2 separate regions of the Homo sapiens genome follow, and region 1 is linked to region 2. Evidence: promoter capture Hi-C in human tissues and cell types (Jung and others, 2019). All regions are on one chromosome and are shown on one strand. The core of a region is centred on a gene start or on the middle of the fragment in contact, and the rest is flanking DNA. Distances in the headings are between cores, read along the strand shown.

Region 1 (3,042 bases), core at 316-2,815, 220 kb after region 2:
TCGAAGTGTTCATGGAACATATGCATGTAGATGTTGAATAGGTGGTTGGATATATGAATCTGGAGCTGAGATGTAGGTTTCTTTTTTTTTTTTTTTTTTGAGTCAGAGTCTCTGGTCTCCCCCACAGAGCTGGCTCTGCATGAATTACTCTTCCTCTATTGCAATGAGCTAAGGGATATGAGGGCAGTTGTGCGATCTTAGCTCACTGCATCCTCCGCCTCCCGGGCTCAAGTGATTCTCCTGTCTCAGCCTCCTGAGTAGCTGGGATTACAGGTGCCCGCCACCACACCTGGCTAATTTTGTATTTTTAGTAGAGATTGGGTTTCACCATGTTGGGCAGGCTGGTCTTGAACTCCTGGCCTCAGGTGATCCGCCCACCTCAGCCTCCCAAAGTGCTGGGATTTCAGGCATGAACCACTGCGCCTGGCCTGAGATGTAGGTTTCTATATCACCAGCATATAGATGGGAACTAGAACCATGGAAGAAGCTGCAATTCACCAGCAAGAGAAGAAGTAGATGAGAAAGCAAGAGGGCCTAGAACCGACCCCGGAGAAGGGCTAACCTTTAAGGGGTGGGAGTGCTGAAGTCCCCAAAGGATTCTGAGAAGGAGTAGCCACAGAGATCCAATGAAAGTCAGGCAAAGGTGGATTCCTGCAAGCTAAGGGAAGGAGGTGAGGGAGGTGGGGCATGGTCACAGTGTCAACTGGTGCTGAGAGTTCCAGGAAGATCAGCTATGTGGTGTGTCTATTGGATTTAGTGACAATGACGTTGTTGTTTACTTGGCAAGAGAGGCTTTAGAGAAGGGATGGGGGTGGGAGCCAGACTGGAGTGGGCGGAGGAGTGAATGGAGATGCAGAAATGGATATGATGACTCACTCTTTCAGGGGACTTGGCTATGAAGAAGAGAGGCATGGAGTGGTGGTAAGAGAATGTGGGATTGAAGAGGGGGTATTTTGGAGACAGAGTTTCACTCTTGTTGCACAGGCTGGAGTGTAATGGGGTGATCTCGGCTCACCGCAACCTCCGCCTCTGGGGTTCAAGCTATTCTCCTGCCTCAGCTTTCTGAGTAGCTGGGAATACAGGCATGTGCCACCATGCCTGGCTAATTTTGTATTTTTAGTAGAGAAATGATGTTAAGTGCAGATGGAAAGGGGACAGGAGAGAAAGGGAAGTTGATGTGGTAAATGAAAATTATCTTCATCATCTTCCTCACCATCACCAGCAGTAACCACAAGGAAAGCTTGTTCTGCTCTGGGACTGCCCTGTCACTTTTCTTCCTGAGAAAATGAGCCAAAATCTTTCCCCCTGTAACTTTCACCTTTGCTTAGTTTTGCCTTGTGTCCCTCTTCAAATGGCTGCACACTGCTACTATGTCTCTCCTCTTCTTCAAACTCACAGCCTCCATCCTACAGGCCATGTGCTCTCAGCCTGGCGACCAGACCCTCAACTGTCTCAACCAAGTTCACACCGCTTGTTTGTCAAGCCCCTCTTAAGAGGCAGTGTACACACTCTTGCTTTGGTGATGGAAGCATGAAATGGTTCAAGCATTTATGATTTAGGAAAATAAACTCAGATAGAAAATGTGCACACCCTTTGACCCAGAAGTCCTGTATAGACTTAATGCCTTAGGTGTGTGAAGAAGCTTGTGCAGGGATTTCTGGCAACATGAATGTGGGGTGGACAGACAGTGAGCACAGTTGTTAGGAGCATAGCCTGAGTGCATTCTTCCTGAGATCAGGAACAGGACGAGGATGCCCGCTTTCACCGCTGCTGTTCAACATTGTACTGGAAGTTCTAGCCAGAGCAATTAGACAAGAAAAGCAATAAAAGGCATCCAGATGGCAAAGAATGAAGTAAAACTATCTTTAATCACAGATGGCACAATCCCATATATGGAGAATCCCGAAGAATTCACAAGAAAACTATTAGATAGAGCTAATTAACCAATTCAGTAAAGTCGCAAGGAACAAGATCAACACACAAAAATTAATTGTGTGTGTGCATTTTTTTTTACACCAGCAAGGAACATTTGAAAAGGAAATTGGAAAAATAATTCCATTTACCATAGCATTTAAGAGAGCTGAGGCTGTGGAGCCAGATGGCTGCGTTCAGAGCTGGCGCTGCTGTTTACCATGTGACCTTGGACAAGCTTCTCGCTTCATTCATACCACAGTTTGTTCGGCTATTAGGTGGAGGTAATACTAGCACCTTCCTTATAGAGTTGGTTTTTGTTTTCATTTTTTTGGTGGGGGGGAGTAAGAATTGCAAAAGTTAATATATGTCAGCAAAATAGACTTAGAAGAGTGGTTGGCACATGGTAAGGACATATTAGGGTTACCAAAAATTGTTTATAATTGGGAAAATTGAACAAAAGTTACAGTTAAATATCTATCCCAGAGACTGACTGGCAAATTATCACAATGTACCTCTTAGCTTGAGCCATATGGAACTGCCTGTATTCTATAGCTATGGCCTACAAAATGGGCAGTTCTTTCTTTCTTTTCTTTTTTTTGGAGAGAGAGTCTCACTCTGTTGCCCAGGCTGAAGTGCAGTGCAGTGGCATGATCTCGGCTCACTGCAACCTCCGCCTTCCAGGTTCAAGTGATTCTCCTGCCTCAGCCTCCCAAGTAGCTGGGATTACAAGCATGCACCACCACAACTGGATAATTTTTGCATTTTTAGTAGAGACAGGGTTTCCGCCATGTTGGCCAGCCTGGTCTTGAACTCCTGGCCTCAAGTGATCTGCCCGCCTTGGCCTCCCAAAGTGCTGGGATTACAGGCGTGAGGCACCATGACCTGCCAAAATGGGCAGTTTCATATATTCAATCACTAGGATACTCTTTAGCCACTGAAAATGATTGTGTATCATAGATCTATCTTTATCACAGATATCTTTACTGTCATAGAAAGAATTAATAACATATTATTGAGTAAAAATAGCAAGTTACAAAACAGCCTGCAGCCTGTAGTGTGGCCACGTTTGTAACATCAGTATATCTGTTTGTGTGTCTAGGTGTGGACATAAAGAGATATCTAGAAGAC
Region 2 (2,971 bases), core at 366-2,865:
TTCTGATTTATCTATGGAATACTTTCAGCTTTTGGGGGGAAAGAAAATAAATTTTTTTATACTTACAAAAGATATACATGCTGCCAGTAATAAAATCCTAACTAGCAAGTCTTCAAACTGCTCAATCACAAGTTCCAGCAAGGTTTTTCCTGTAAGAAACAAACACATGTGTTTTAACTGTCATCTTACCATCAGCACACCAACAGAGGAAAAAAAACAGAAACAGCATGTTAAGATTACCTTCTTCAGCCGGTAACTCTGTAGAATGTAGAAATTCGTCAAGCAATGTGTCAAGAGGGAGGTTAAAAAAAAAAAGAGAGAGACATTTTAGCACTTCGTTTTTCTAAAAAGAACTGCTACAATTCTAAGCATCAATATCTTTAAAACACAGACCTAGCTATAAGAATATCCGATTTTTTTAGCAGAGGGCATACCACGAAGATATCTCAAGGAAGCATGCACTCTTTGTAATCAATGGCCTGAGGTCTAGCCCTAAGCGTGAAATCACTTCGGGCTCCTGAACCTAGGAGTGGTTTCAGCGATGTCATCACTTCTGCCAGATGTGTAACTTTGGGTAGGACAAGAACGGTCAGAGGCCTTCCAACGACCTCGACTCCTCATAAATCGGCAGGGGACGAGAAAACGTCTTGCCGGGCTCAACCTAGCTGCAGAAGCCACGTCCCTCCCTCCACCGGGGCCGGCTGCTGCTGGAGAGAAGCCTCCGAGCCTTGCGCGCCGAAAAGGTCGAGGGCCCGAGAAGCGAAGAGGTCCAGGGAAGGCGAGGCGAGGACCGCAGCCCCTTTCTCTCCCGCGGGGCCGGCGCGCTGGCCCGACCCTCCGCCCGCAGCTGTCGGCGGGCGCGGAGCCGAAGCCCACGAGGTGGAGCCCGGTCAGCCATCTTCCCTGGCTCTCCCGGCCGCGCCGGGCCCCTGCAGCGGAGCGCCCTGCACCTACCGTTGGAGCCCCATCTCTCCTTAAGCTTCTTGACCTGTTCCAGGCTCAGCCCCGTACTCTCGTTGACGCCGAAGTGGCCCAGCACCTCCTCCACCGTCTTGGTGTGCGCGTTCTCCATGGCTTCGGGGGCCCGGCCGGCCTCGCCTCCCGTCCCCGCGGCCTCCTCGCCTCCGCCTCGCACTCCGGCCGCGGGCTCGTGCCACCCCGGGAGCCCAGGCGCGGACGGGCTCTCCCCTCCTCCTCTTGCGGCCGCTTCCGCCTCGCCGGGCGCTGAATCACCCCGCGCCCCCTCCCCCAGACAACCGCCCCTCGCGCGGCCCCGAGCTCCGCAGGGCGGGTTGGGGGCTCCTGACCCACCCTCCCTCCCCTCGCCAGAAGGGAGGGCCTCCCTCGCCCTCAGCCGCCCGCCGGGAGGGCAGGCCGCGGCCCCCGAGCCCCCTCCCCGCTCTCTTGAGGCGATCAGAGGCCCCGCCCGGGCCGGAGGAGGGGGCGCCCGGCAGACCACTGAGGGCGGAACGCGGCGAGGGAGGCGAGCCGGCGGGGCGGTGCGCGGCGCGCTCGCCCGGGTCCCTCAGCGCCGCACGCCCGACAGCGGCGGAGGAAACTGCGGCGAAGGAAAAGGAGGTGGCGTCGGGGACGGCTCCGCGGCGGCTGCTCTAATAGCATTTATCGGCCGCTGCCTCCCCTTTCGCCGCCGCCGCGGCATGTGGACGCCGCTCATTGGCCGAGAGCGCCCAGCGCGGCGCGGGCGGCGCGGCCCCGCCCCCTCCTCCCGGCTCCCTCCTCCCGCGCGCCTGGCGCCCACGCTGCCGCGCAGGCCCCGCCCCCTCCCGCGCGCCGCCCCTAGGAACCCGGATCGAGGCCGCGCGCGCCGCGGTCGCGGGGCTGGCGGAGGGGAAGCTGGGTACCCTCTTCTGTGCCTGCGGTTCTCTGACCCACCCACCTGCAGACGCAGGGTGGGGCGCTCACAGTGGGCACGCTGCTCTGGGGCCGGTGGGCGGATGGTTGGAAGGCGAGGCCGAGGAGCTGGGAGCGCGGTCCACGCGGGGCGTCTCGAGGCGCCCTCGGGCTGATGTCCTTGGCTCGCCTCCTCGCCCTCGGTCGCCCGGGCTGCGCTCTGCATCCTAATCTGGCTCCTTCAGAGCCCCCCTCAGAAACCAAGGGGAGGAATTCCGCAGTTCACTTCCCACACAACCCAAATCCTTCATCTGTCGCCTCGGGAACACCGCATCCTACACCCCCTGCCGCCAGCTCCTTCGCACGCCAGCCCCGATTCTTCCCCAGCGGGTTCTGGGCCCTGACGAGGGAACCCCCCTCGCGGGGGGGAGGGAGAAGAGTTGATTTTATTATTAATAGCTGACGCAGCGCTTGATAGGTGTCTGCAGGGCAGTCACAGTTCACGCCGCTGGAGCTGCCACACAGCAGCTAGACTTGGGCTAGGAGGTGCTTCGCTGTGGCTTTCAGATGAAGGCCATTTCATAGACTCACTTCCCTCGACAGGAGAAAAGGGGACTTGAATCCAAAGCTGCTCTTAAACCACAGATGATTTGCTCTGCTCGGGAGGACAAAGCGCAGGTCACAGCAAGATAAAGGGAATTTTGCCAATATAAAGAAGCTACATTACTTAACAAGGGGATGGGAAATTGCATGGAATTCATGAACAAAACATGAACATATTCTCTTCACAAAGAAGAGCAGCTTTCTTCACGGAGTAGGTTGCAGAATGAAGCAATTAGTCCACTTTTGTGTTTAACAATAACGCACCATCCGCATGAGCAAAAGCAGAGCAGAAAAATCACCTCAGTTGTCTCAAGTGGCTGGGCTTCAGGACTTAAGATAAATTCCTTCAGCAGATGCAAATTACAGTGCATCACCAGCTGAAAAAATCAGGCACGTCATGTCATTTAATTATTTCCAAGGAGTGGACGTTGGCATGTAGTTTTGATTGATACTTGGAAAAGAACCAACAAAACCCTACACGAAACAAACAAACAAAAAATTATACTATATGGCAACG

The links. Contacts are between HindIII fragments. The study calls those that stand out against the background at their distance.
Region 1: a contact is called between a fragment that was not itself captured here and the fragment with the promoter of ATP2A2 in region 2, in 1 of the 25 tissues and cell types used here (mesenchymal stem cells).

Annotation. Positions count from the first base shown.
Region 1 is chr12:110,058,141-110,061,182 of GRCh38, reverse strand. It overlaps a transcript of C12orf76 not described here. Among named protein-coding and RNA genes, the nearest start is that of C12orf76, 11 kb to the right of the region's middle. The HindIII fragment of the contact is 4,989 bases long and covers 1-3,042 here.
Region 2 is chr12:110,279,891-110,282,861 of GRCh38, reverse strand. ATP2A2 (ATPase sarcoplasmic/endoplasmic reticulum Ca2+ transporting 2) reads right to left here and starts at 1,615. Exons shown (of 20, transcript NM_170665.4): 1 at 955-1,615; 2 at 241-258; 3 at 67-149. The coding sequence starts at 1,072. RefSeq lists enhancers at 166-920, 2,038-2,107 and silencers at 748-1,257, 1,348-1,947. The HindIII fragment of the contact is 9,241 bases long and covers 1-2,971 here.